Linked DNA regions of Homo sapiens: all the other regions are linked to region 4. Evidence: promoter capture Hi-C in 16 types of primary human blood cells and fetal thymus (Javierre and others, 2016). All regions are on one chromosome and are shown on one strand. The core of a region is centred on a gene start or on the middle of the fragment in contact, and the rest is flanking DNA. Distances in the headings are between cores, read along the strand shown. Region 1 overlaps YES1 (YES proto-oncogene 1, Src family tyrosine kinase). Region 2 overlaps DLGAP1 (DLG associated protein 1). Region 3 has its middle 38 kb from the start of YES1. Region 4 holds the start of METTL4 (methyltransferase 4, N6-adenosine).

What was found. The method cuts DNA at HindIII sites, captures the fragments that hold promoters and counts their contacts. A CHiCAGO score of 5 or more calls a contact.
Region 1: a contact is called between a fragment that was not itself captured here and the fragment with the promoter of METTL4 in region 4, in 1 of 17 cell types (naive CD8 T cells). The highest score is 7.3, in naive CD8 T cells.
Region 2: a fragment that was not itself captured here is called in contact with the fragment with the promoter of METTL4 in region 4 in 1 of 17 cell types (fetal thymus); the score reaches 5.2 in fetal thymus.
Region 3: a fragment that was not itself captured here is called in contact with the fragment with the promoter of METTL4 in region 4 in 4 of 17 cell types (M1 macrophages, megakaryocytes, M0 macrophages and 1 more); the score reaches 6.2 in M1 macrophages.

Annotation. Positions count from the first base shown.
Region 1 is chr18:742,052-744,957 of GRCh38, reverse strand. YES1 (YES proto-oncogene 1, Src family tyrosine kinase) reads left to right here. Exons shown (of 12, transcript NM_005433.4): 7 at 1,543-1,698; 8 at 1,861-2,040. Among named protein-coding and RNA genes, the nearest start is that of ENOSF1, 31 kb to the right of the region's middle. The HindIII fragment of the contact is 1,130 bases long and covers 799-1,928 here.
Region 2 is chr18:3,663,869-3,666,874 of GRCh38, reverse strand. All of the region lies in intron 7 of DLGAP1 (DLG associated protein 1), which reads left to right. Among named protein-coding and RNA genes, the nearest start is that of DLGAP1-AS6, 12 kb to the right of the region's middle. RefSeq lists a silencer at 812-1,106. The HindIII fragment of the contact is 2,180 bases long and covers 572-2,751 here.
Region 3 is chr18:848,929-851,747 of GRCh38, reverse strand. No RefSeq gene overlaps it. Among named protein-coding and RNA genes, the nearest start is that of YES1, 38 kb to the right of the region's middle. The HindIII fragment of the contact is 7,135 bases long and covers 1-2,819 here.
Region 4 is chr18:2,570,237-2,573,123 of GRCh38, reverse strand. It overlaps METTL4 (methyltransferase 4, N6-adenosine), which reads left to right and starts at 1,619. Exons shown (of 9, transcript NM_022840.5): 1 at 1,619-1,975. NDC80 (NDC80 kinetochore complex component) reads right to left here and starts at 1,567. Exons shown (of 17, transcript NM_006101.3): 1 at 1,441-1,567; 2 at 38-147. The coding sequence starts at 138. RefSeq lists enhancers at 1,562-1,721, 1,604-2,526. The HindIII fragment of the contact is 2,186 bases long and covers 1-1,865 here.

The sequences.
Region 1 (2,906 bases), core at 114-2,613, 1.8 Mb after region 4:
TTTTAGTGAGAATAGGAGAGAACATGTCTCATTTATAATAAGAAAGATTGTATAAGCAGAATTCATAAGTCAAGCTGTTATGAATCTAGGGTTCCCTGACTTTGTGTCTCCCTTATTTAAAAAAATCAGTCTCCTGTTAGGCATGTGGATTGTGCCTTTAATCCCAACTACTGATGCAGGAGGATCACTTGAGGCCAGGAGTTCAAGAACAGCCTGGGCAACATAGCAAGACCTCATCTCTTAAAAAAAAAAAAAAAAAAAAAAAAAAGGCCAGGCGTGGTGGCTCACTCCTGTAATCCCACCACTTTGGGAGGCCGAAACAGACAGATCACTTGAGGTCAGGAGTTTGAGACCAGCCTGGGCAACATGGCAAAACCCTATCTATTAAAATATAAAAAAATTTAGCCAGGCGTGGTGGCATGCACCTGTAGGCTCAGCTACTTGGGAGGCTGAGGCAGGAGAATCACTTGAACCTGGGAGGTGGAAGTTGCAGTGAGCTGAGACCACACCACTGCACTCCATCCTGGGCGACAGAGTGAGACTCCATCTCAAAAAAAAAAAAAGAAAAAATCTCCTAAATGATCCTAAATGAACTTTTTCCTTGATTTTTTGGTATGCCTCTTACAAATTAGTGGCTATTAGATAATAACATTTAATGATAACATTCTCTTTGAGAATTAATAAAACCCAGTGTACAAAGGCAGAACTTTGGAAGCAGACAGACCTAGATTTGAATCCCATCTCTACCATTTACTAACTGCAGGGCCTTAGGGGAAAGTTGCGTATGTTTTCAAAGCTTCATTTATATATGAGATACTTGTGAAGTGCTAATTTAGCACAATAGTGGAACATACTAAGTATTTAGTAAATAATAACTTAAAAAAATATATATTTTAAGTTATACTAAGTATTTAGTAAATATACTAACATATCTACTATATATTAGTATATACATACTAAGTAGTAAATACAATATATTTACTATATATTAGTATATACATACTAAGTAGTAAGTAATAACATGTATATATATATATATTTTTTTTTTTTTCGAGTCAGAATCTCACTGTGTCACCCAGGCTAGAGTGCAGTGGCGCAATTTTGGCTCACTGCAACCTCTGCCTCCTGGGTTCATGCGATCCATCTGCCTCAGCTTCCTTAGTAGCTGAGACTACAGGCATGCACCACCATGCCCGGCTAACTTTTGTATTTTTAGTAGAGACAGTGTTTCACTGTATTGGCCAGGCTAGTCTCGAACTCCTGACCTCGTGATTCATCTGCCTCAACCTCCCAAAGTGCTGGGATTACAGACGTGAGACACCTTGCCCGGCCTTAAAAATAAATTTTACAAAATGTTTCACTTATGTATATTTCATGTTTTGCTGCTTATGGACAACTCCCTTTTTGTTTTGTGCTTTTAGAGTAAAACTCGAAAGGACTTCTGTTTTTGTTTTTCTACAGTTTAAACTTAAAACATTGATACACTATATGCCCCTTAATTTTTGTAATTGATATTACAGTATAGTTTATTCATTTATCTAGAACATGCTGATGGTTTATGCCACAAGTTGACAACTGTGTGTCCAACTGTGAAACCTCAGACTCAAGGTCTAGCAAAAGATGCTTGGGAAATCCCTCGAGAATCTTTGCGACTAGAGGTTAAACTAGGACAAGGATGTTTCGGCGAAGTGTGGATGGGTAAGAAGCCTGAATTTTTGTTTTCTGTCATTGTTTAGCTGTGGATTAAAGTGCAACAATTTATGATAAAATATGTTTCAATATTTAAGAGAAGTGCTGTTCACTGAAGTTTGGTCTAAAATCCTTTAAAATATAAATTCCTAAAATGTGTTATTTCTTTAGGAACATGGAATGGAACCACGAAAGTAGCAATCAAAACACTAAAACCAGGTACAATGATGCCAGAAGCTTTCCTTCAAGAAGCTCAGATAATGAAAAAATTAAGACATGATAAACTTGTTCCACTATATGCTGTTGTTTCTGAAGAACCAATTTACATTGTCACTGAATTTATGTCAAAAGGTATGTATTAGTATCTCCTTAGGTATTTGTGTTGATAATGTTTTTAAGAGTCTTGATTTGTATGCATATAGACTTATACTGTTTTCTAATTTAAGATTTTTATGTAGACATATTTGGATAGAAGAAACCTGACACTTTGTTTAATGGAATAGTGATTATCCAGTTATTCCAGAGGATAGTATGACGTTTAAAAGGAAAAGTAGGCAGGCTGAATTAATTTTGAAATTAAGTTTGACTAAAACAAATGGAAAAGCTAGAAAGGTGAAAAATAGAAAGTGTTTGTACACATTTAATTAAAATGATAAAATCAGAAAGATACTTACATTTTTAGTACTAAAGCAAAGAAATAAGGTAAAGTTAAAATGAATTAGTTTTCTCATTTTAATATAAACATAATTCCTATATTCAGGACTTCTAGGAACTTTTTTCCCCACTGCTTTCTTTTTTTTTTTTTTTTTAAATAGAGACTGGGGTCTCAACTATGTTGCCCAGGCTGGTCTTGAACTCCTGGCCTCAGGCAGTCCTCCCTTTTTGGCCTCCCAAAGTGCTGGTATTACCAGCATGAGCCACTGTGCCTGGCCTCCCCACTACCTTCAATGGAAGTTTCTTCATTTTCCTTAACTCTAGACCACAAGATGGGATCTTCAGTAACAGGGTTAGTTAGGGGGAGGATAAAGAGAAGATTGATACTCTTTCCTCTTTTTCCCTGTGCAGATGGTACTTAGAGGAACTAGTAAGTCAGCAGATAAGCTGACAGGCCTGATTTTTATGTGTTTGATTTCATCTGCTTTATTATTATTTTTACTCTTGAACCAATAATATACAGTAGTCACTAATTATGTCACCCTCTCCAGTGGTGTGTCTTG
Region 2 (3,006 bases), core at 412-2,911, 1.1 Mb before region 4:
TGAGGCAGGAGGCTCCCTTGAGCCTAGGAGTTCAAGATTGCAGTGAGCTATGATTGCACCACTGCACTGCAGCTTGAATGACACAGCAAGACCCTATCTCTAAAACAAATTTAAAAATTGTTTAAAAAAAAACTTTTTAAATTGACAGATTAGAATCTGATCAGTTTCTTTCCAGAGCTACTTGAACATCTCAGGAGATTCTGCTAAGGATGGAAAAGGAAGGAGTTTTAATTTCAAAGTTTCATTCCATGTCTTGTCAAACCAAGTCTAGATTTGCCATTTAGAACTGCATTCTCTGATCCTGTGTTTTAAGAGAGGTTTCTCCATGTAGATGAAACCAGGAGCTGCATCCTTCCTCGGATTGGTAGGTGTTCCATGGGCTTTATCTGTGCGGCGTAATGACAGCACACAAACGCCAGGGGGCAATGCAGTTTCACCGAAGAATCCTAGGAAACTCGGGTCTGGCTTTGACTAAGAACATTGGCAGGATCCTGGGGCAAAGGTGGAAATCCTTACTAAAAAGAGTTCCGCCAAGGAAAAAATATGTTTAAAAATCCTTTCTTTGAAAGCTTCCTGCATTGTCATCAAAATTGCCCTTCAGTATTTGTGCACAGCTGGAAGTTTTGTGATATTATTTGCAAAAGATTTACTTTTCGTTTTTTCTCAATGCGGCTGCCTAGTCTTTCCTGGAAGGTTTCCTGGGTCTTTCTGCGTAGGAAGGATTATTCTAACCAGCTCTCGGGTAGCCTGGATCACATTGTTAGGACTCTGTTGCGTCCTCTGCCTGACCGCGGGGCTCTCTTCCCCCGGTGCCCATTCAGCGCTTCCAGCTGCCTCTGCGGTTGGAGCCGGGCTCCCTTTAAGGTAATTCCAGTCTGGGCCTGTGTTTTGTTTCCAGCTCGGCAGCCGCCAGGTGTCTGCCCTCCCTTAACCTCCAAGGATGAGAGATCAAAGGTGCCCCTACATCTGCCTCCTGCCCAGCTCTTTAATCTGTTACATGTTCAAAAGGGACAAATGCAGTATTGTGCACTCAGGGAGGGAGGACAAATCAGAGAAGTGGAAATGGGCAGAGCCTCAGAATGTGTTAACTTACATAAATGATACGGAATATGCCTGTCGACATATTAGCCCTGCCACTGTAGAGGTGTTTTCTTCTTAAAAGAGCAAGAATATTATGCAGAAATGGAAATCCTCTTTTCTCCCTTTGGAAGCCTACTAAACCCATTTAATGAAATATCGTACACAGACCCATTTGGAGGTCACTATTAGAAATATAACGAGGTAAAACAAAATATTTTTTAAATTTATGAAATGGAAATTACAAGGGCACTTGTAGAGACCTGAGCTTATTTTATATGTGGCAAAAATGATAAACTAATCTTTAAGCAGAGCAGATATATTTTAAGAAAGACTATTCCCAGCGGAGCATGTATTTTCCATATCCGTAGAGCTAAGTAGGGGAATGCATTTTAAAACAGTAGGAATTCAGATTAGGTATTAAGAAAATAATACTGAGAGCAATGGTTATGGAAGGTACAGAATTTTCCTAACAGCACTAAGGAAGCAGCAATTATTTCTTCCATTTTTAGAGGAAGGGGTTGGGGGGAGGGGGAAGAGCTCCTGATCTAGTAACAAATTGTTTCTAAACTTAAATTTAGAAACATTTTAAACAGTTTGAGCATCCACGATTTTCTTTAGACTTTTAGGAGAGCTCCCTAATTTCCAACTAAAGACATAAATGTGAACAGGCACTAATTACTTTTTTCTCTATGCATTCCTGCGCCCACACACCCAGAGGCTCTCTTGTGCTTCCTCTTCCCCAGCGGTTACAAAAAGGAACTCCAGCAACTTCAGTTGTGCTTAGCTGCCGTCACAGACAATAGCATAGTAGGACCAGTGGCCTCATATTAAGTCACAGTCTTTCCCAGTTACAATGGCTGAGAACCCAGATTTTCACAAGGTGCAAAGAAAAGAATATTGACATGGTTATTAAAAGCTATGGTGAGAAGGGAGTCTTTATCAGCTGCTTCAAATATTTCATTCACCTTCTTAACAAATATTTATTCTGCACTTACTATGTCCAGACATGGTGCTGAACTCGGGGAATTCACTGGTGATCAAAAGCAGTCTTACCCTTTGTTCTCATGGAGTTTACCATCTAGGGGTAGAGACTAGCGTCAATCAAATAATCACAGAGATAACTGCGCTGAAAGAAAGAGACAGTTCTTGTGGGAGGATCTATTGTAACAAAGGGACTAATCTAGAGGCTCAGGGAGAACTTCCCTGAGAAAATCCTCATTAGCTAAGAGTCAAAGGATCAAGAAGGGTGAGGGATGGCACGTGCTAATTCTGCATTCAATATTAGTAGAACTGAAAGGGTGATGTGGCTGGAGTACCAAGAGCTAAGGGACAGGGCACATGTGTAGTCAGAAAATGTATGCACAGCTGACTATGTCTGTCATCTGTTGCTACATACCTTATTACCCCAATGTGGAGCAGCTGAAAAACAATCATTATATTATACCTTATGATTTTGAATCAGGAATTTAGGCAGGGTTCAGCTGGGCAATTCTTCTGTTCCACATTCAGCTAGAAGTTGGTGTATTAGTCAGAGTTCTCCAGAGAAGTAGTATATCCGTGTGTGTGTGTGTGTGTGGGTGTGTGTGTGTGTGTGTGTGTGTGTGTGTGTGTATACTGACCCATAATTATGGAGGCTGAGAAGTCCCAAGATCTGCAGTCAGCAAGCAAGCTTGAAACCCAGGAGAGCCAATGGTATAGTTCCAATCTGGGTCCAAAGACCTGAGAACATGGAGAACAATTGTGTAAGTTCCAGTTCAAGTCGAAGTCCAAAGGGAAGAGAAGACTGATGTCCCAGCAGAGACAGAGAATTCTCTCTTACTTTGTCTTTTTGTTCTATTCAGGACTTCAACTCATTGGACAAGACCCACCCACCTTAGGAAGGGAAGTCTGCTGTACTCAATGAACTGATCCAAATGTTAATCTCAT
Region 3 (2,819 bases), core at 277-2,776, 1.7 Mb after region 4:
ACAGCTGGGTGTGGTGGCACATGCCTATAAATCCCAGCTACTCGGGAGTCTGGGGCAGGAGAATCATTTGAACTCAGGAAGCGGAGGTGGCAGTGAGCTGAGATCTTGCCACTGCACTCCAGCCTGGGTGACAGAGTGAGACTCCATCTCAAAAATAATAATAATAATAATAATGCTACTATGAGTATTCATATACAAGTCCTCGTGTTCACATATATTTTCTCTTGGGTAGATACCTAGGAACGGAATTGCTGGATCACATACTGGAAACATTAATTATTTTCCAGAGAGGCTGTACTATTTTACATTCTCACCAGTAATGAAAGTTAATCTAGTTTCTGTACATCGTCCCATCTCTTTTATTCTAGAACAGACTCCATCTCCCCAATTATTTTCATGAAATTAAGTGTTTTAGGCGACCTGGCTAGTTGCATTGCATTAGTTGGTGCAAAAGTAATTACCACTTTTGCCATTGCTCGGTTTTGGACTTGCTTATGTGGCAGTCCCATAGAAGGTTGTCTGGGCTGGAATGGCCACATGAGCAAGTCCAAACCAACTAATGGCAAAAACCGCAATTACTTTTGCACCAACTAATACAGTCTCCCACATTCCAGGTTTGACTTTATTTCTTTGTGATATTGTTTGGCTTGTTTCTCTATCCCCTGTATTTCCAGGAATTGGAAGTAAGATGTAAAGGCTTCCTCTTATTCAGGTTAATATTTACATCAAGAATCATATACTGCCTGACTGGTCCACTATTAGTAATTTTTAAATTGATTTGCTACGTTGGGGTAGTAAAAGCCAGATGTCTCCATTTCAAAGGTATTTTGCCCTTTGCAATTAGCAAGTAACGCATGGGAAAATGCCATGCCTATTGCCAAAAAAAAAAAATAGGAGGGGTGTCTTAGATAACTTACAACATATTAAAACTGACAATGACAATTGAAATTAAACATGGGCCAGGGACTCAAAAATGAGGACTCATACCTATAGTGCCAGCTGCTCAGGAGGCTGTGGTGAGAGGATCACTTGAGCCCAGGAGTTGGAGGCCATAGTGAGCTATGATCATGCTACTGCAGTCCAGCATGGGCGACAGAGCAAGACCCTGTCTAAATAATAATAATATTATTATTTTAAAGAACCATATGTGTACTTAGCATCTGTTAGGAATCAAGCAGTACAACTGAGCACTCATTTGGCCCTGAATTTTCTGATAACCAAAACAATAAAGCAAAGATATTTAGTTAGAGGGCCAGGTGCAGTGGCTCACACCTGTAATCCTAGCATTTTTGGGAGGTGGAGGCAGGCAGATCACCTGAGGTCAGGAGTTCAAGACCAGCCTGGCCAACATGGTGAAACCCCATCTCTACTAAAAATACAAAAATTAGCCGGGCATGGTGGCAGGGGCCTGTAGTCCCAGCTACTCAGGAGGCCGAGGCAAGAGAATCGCCTGAACCCAGGAGGCGGAGGTTGCAGTGAGCCCAGATCGCACCTCTGCACTCCAGCCTGGGTAACAGCGAAAGTCTGTCTCAAAAAAAAAAAGATATTAAGTTAGAGGTCTCACTTCCAACTGGAATAAGGTACATGAATTGTTTCATAAAAGTGAACTGGACTTCAGCAGGAATTTCTCACAGGGATGCTTATATAAATACCTCAAATAAGATAGTGAATAATTATTCTAATGAGTATGAAAGCCCAGACATTTGTATACCTTCACTAAGGAACCAGCCTTCTGTATCTGAAAAGAACGACCTCCTCCACCAAACATCCAGTTTCATGAGGCAGACCCCAAAGAGTGAGAAAAGGAGATACCTGTCATTCCTGCAGGATCAATTAAAGCAGCTTTAGTAACTAGTAAAATGACAGACATTACAAGCAATTTCACCTAACAGTGTTTTTTTGGTTACTTTTATATTGATATTTCTAAGGGAAATAGGACTACACACACACACACACACACACACACACACACACACACAGACAGTCAAAAAATATTTCTAGGATGGGCGTGGTGGCTCACACCTATAATCCCAGCACTTTGGGAGGCCGAGGCAGGTGGATCACCTGAGGTCAGGAGTTCGAGACCAGCCTGGCCAACATGGCGAAACCCCGTCTCTACTAAAAATACAAAAATTAGCTGGGCATGGTGGCACACGCCTGTAATCCCAGCTACTCGGGAGGTTGAGGCAGGAGAATCGCTTGAACTCAGGAGGTGGAGGTTACAGTAAGCCAAGATCACACCACTGCACTCCAGCCTGGGTGACAGAACAAGACTCTGTCTCAAAAAAAAAACATTATTTCTGATCACCTAATATATTACAGTCAGATAACAGATACCCTAGAACACCAGACAAATATAACTCCCACGAATCTTCTTTCACATTAAAATTATTCCTTTCTCTCTCTTTCTCCCTCCCTGTCTCACCAGATGTCACAAGCAAACTTCTGTCAAATGCTGAGTTGCAACCAACTCAGTGGTGAGTGAGTAAATGCCAGTCTTCTGTGTTGTGAGTAGAAGAAAACACACATGTCTTAGGCCCCAGACATGCAGATGGCAGGACTGCAAGTGCTGGGAAAATGGAGGAACGTGATTTATTTTCTTGCCAGAGACAAGCCTGTCCTGCTTCCTCAGGGGTGCCGCCAGAACCAATTATTTCTCTCAAAAAACAGCTTTGGATCCGCTCAGAAACTCAAAGAGAAGGGCTTTGTTGATAAATCCATATCATAAAACATGGAAGAAACAAATTTGTCTTCAAAGTGCTAAAAGTATAGGTTTTAGAGTCCAGACAAACTGAATTTCAGCTTTATTACTCACTAAG
Region 4 (2,887 bases), core at 370-2,869:
AAAGCATGCAAATTAGAACCACAAGGGAAATACTCACGTTTGAGGGGTATAGAGGCCTTGTTTATTTACATCCTGGGATCTTAACTCCTGCATGGAGAGGCGGCCAGCACCACCGCTGGAAACTGAACTGCGCTTCATGCTTATGACCTACATTCACGAATTCAGTATTTAAAAAAAACTTTCCAGACAGAGATGGTACATTAAGCAACTATTTATCCTTAAACAGAAAGACAGTCAGGTTTCATTGTTTCTTCAAGATCATCATCTTTCCCCTGGGGTATCTCTTTTTTGTTCATGTACACTGAAGTTCTCATTTGCAAGGAACATCTATTTAATTCCATTTAAAAATATTCAACATAAACATTTATTAACTGCCCACTATATATATAGGGGAGTGTGCTAGGCAATGCAGGAGATGCAAAGACGAGTAAGTTACGGTTTTTGCCTTCACAAGGGTATCCGTGGTAGCTAAAGCCCTGTCTGTTACCCAGACCACATTACTGCTGTTGGCTGTGCCTATTTCAATAGGAAGACAAAAAAATTACCTCAAATTCTCTTATTCACCTCAAAATGTTTCCTTTTCTTTGGTTTCAGAGAATGGAATTATTCTGTTTTCCTAATGTCAATCTCTCCTGCTCTGTCCTTAACCCATTGTTTCCTCAATTACTGCCCTTTTGGCATCAATCTCCCCTTCAACAAGGATAAATCATCCGGTCCATAAAATGGTCTATAGGCTGCCTCCATTTACAAACCACATTAACAGGTCACTCCCTTCACATCTGCTAAAAAATTTGTCTCCTAGGATACACATGATTGACAAAACTTTTGATCCTGTCTCATCTCTGCACCCAGCCTTCTCAGGTCCTGCCCTGGCTTTCAGGAAGGTGACAATCCTTTTACTTCTCTGGGTACTCCTTAGTCTTTTACACTGATTAGACTCTTCTTGATTTTGGCCGCCTATTTCCTCTTCAATATGCGCTTGTTCATCTATTCAACTTTTCCACTCACACCTGTGTGTCCACGTTTAATCTCCACTTAGAATGTAGCTCTCATGATTTAAGATGAAGACTTCTACACGCAGTCCTACACGGCCATAAGAAGCTACACTAGTATTCAGACGCAACCCACCCAACGAGTCCTCTCTTGTCCATCTCTTTCCGCCCCCTTCAATTCTTCCCCGTTTCCTCTCCCGAGCCTCCACTCCTCATCAGTGTCCCCCAGGCCCTCCCCTTTCCTCCTTGGGAAATCGTTGCCACTAGAAATTTAATAGATCCCGTGAAACCAGCGCCTCGCACAGTTTTGGCCTCGAGGCTTCTCCCAACAGCAAACAAACACCAAAACATCGCCTCAGGACCTCTAAATTTAAGTCATTGGCGCCATCACTTTCTTCCTCCAGAACAGCTCTGCAGAAACAAAGTTAATCCGATGTCATTCAGTCACCTTTTTTCCAGTTTCCTGACACGACCCAGGGACCGAATTTCTGTAAACCGTGCAAGTATCTGCTAGACAGGACAGCGGTCATCAAAACACCAGGTCCTTCCTCGGCCCGCCAAAGCCGTTCGAATTTGAAATTCTCCGCCGGCGCTGACGTCATTACGCACGACGCGCGCAGTAACTTCCATGCGACCGCCTCGTCGCTGGAAGGCTGCGTGCTGGTCGCGCCCAGCTGCGTCACCCCAGGAACTGGGGTCTGTGGGCCAGTGTGGCCGTCTCTACGAAGACTGGCACGACCCCTAAAGTTAGGTCGGAAGACCTGTGGGCAGCTTGAGCGCCGAGGAGTGCCCTGAACGCTCAACTCGCCCTGGAAACGTTTTTCCGTACAGCAACATGGCGGCGCCCATGGACTCTTAGAAAAGGAGAAAGCTTTTTCTCTGTGGACTGGAAGGGGCATTTTTCATGATCACTATTTAGATGGGTGCTGTTTTCATGAGGAGAGTCTGGGAAGGCGGCGTCCGCTTTTCTGACAAGGGAAGAGGTGAGGTGGGAGAGGGGCTGCGGAGTGGGTGGAATGGGCTCCCAGGATTGCGTTGGTACGGCTGCCGAAATTCGGGCTCAGTATTTGATCACTTGCCGGAGGCTCACGGTCCTCTGGTGGTGGCTGACCTGTGAGAGGCTAGGAAGAATCCAAGTGTTTGGGGGCGGGCGGCGAGGGAGTGGATGTGAAGCAGAGACGCAGGAGAGGGGTGCACTAACAACAGTAACAGTAGATCACTTTGCTAAAATAGGATTTCCTCGCTGCTGTGAGTTTGAATCCAGAAACAGGCACTGCCCGGTACCTGGAGAGTGGTGGTGATGAAAGATCTCACAGCTCCAGGAAGTCTGGATACTTGGGTCTGGTAGCAATTGTGCCATTAACTAGCGTTGTTATTTTTGGGCAGCTTGCCTTTCTGCTCTGAGTTTCAATTTTCCCGTCTGAATTTCTAGCTCTCACTAGCCATTCCAGGACCCTTTTCACCTCAGCTGTGGCCTATGAAGGGGATGGGGAGGAACCAAGGATTATATTAATATAAAAATTATATGAAAATTAGGCAACCGTCTGATAATAAAAAGTCTCCTTGTGGAATACTGTTAGGTTAAACTTTACCTACAGATTGTTAAATCCTTAGCACTAATGTTTTCCCCAGAAAAGATTAATGGAAACATCATTTGCTTTTCTGACTAGATAGTTGCTGCTTCCAAAGGTGGTTTTACACAAATACAAAATTAAAAACACCTTTAGTACAGAAATAATTGCTTGTATTTCGGTATACATTCACAGTACAGTTCAGCATTTAGTGGTCCTGCTAGCAATTTGCCAGGAAGTCAAGCCTGCCAATTTCCTGATATTCCTGCTGTGCACCCCAACTTCTTAATCCCTGCTGAGGATCTTGAGAAGCAGCAGCACCAA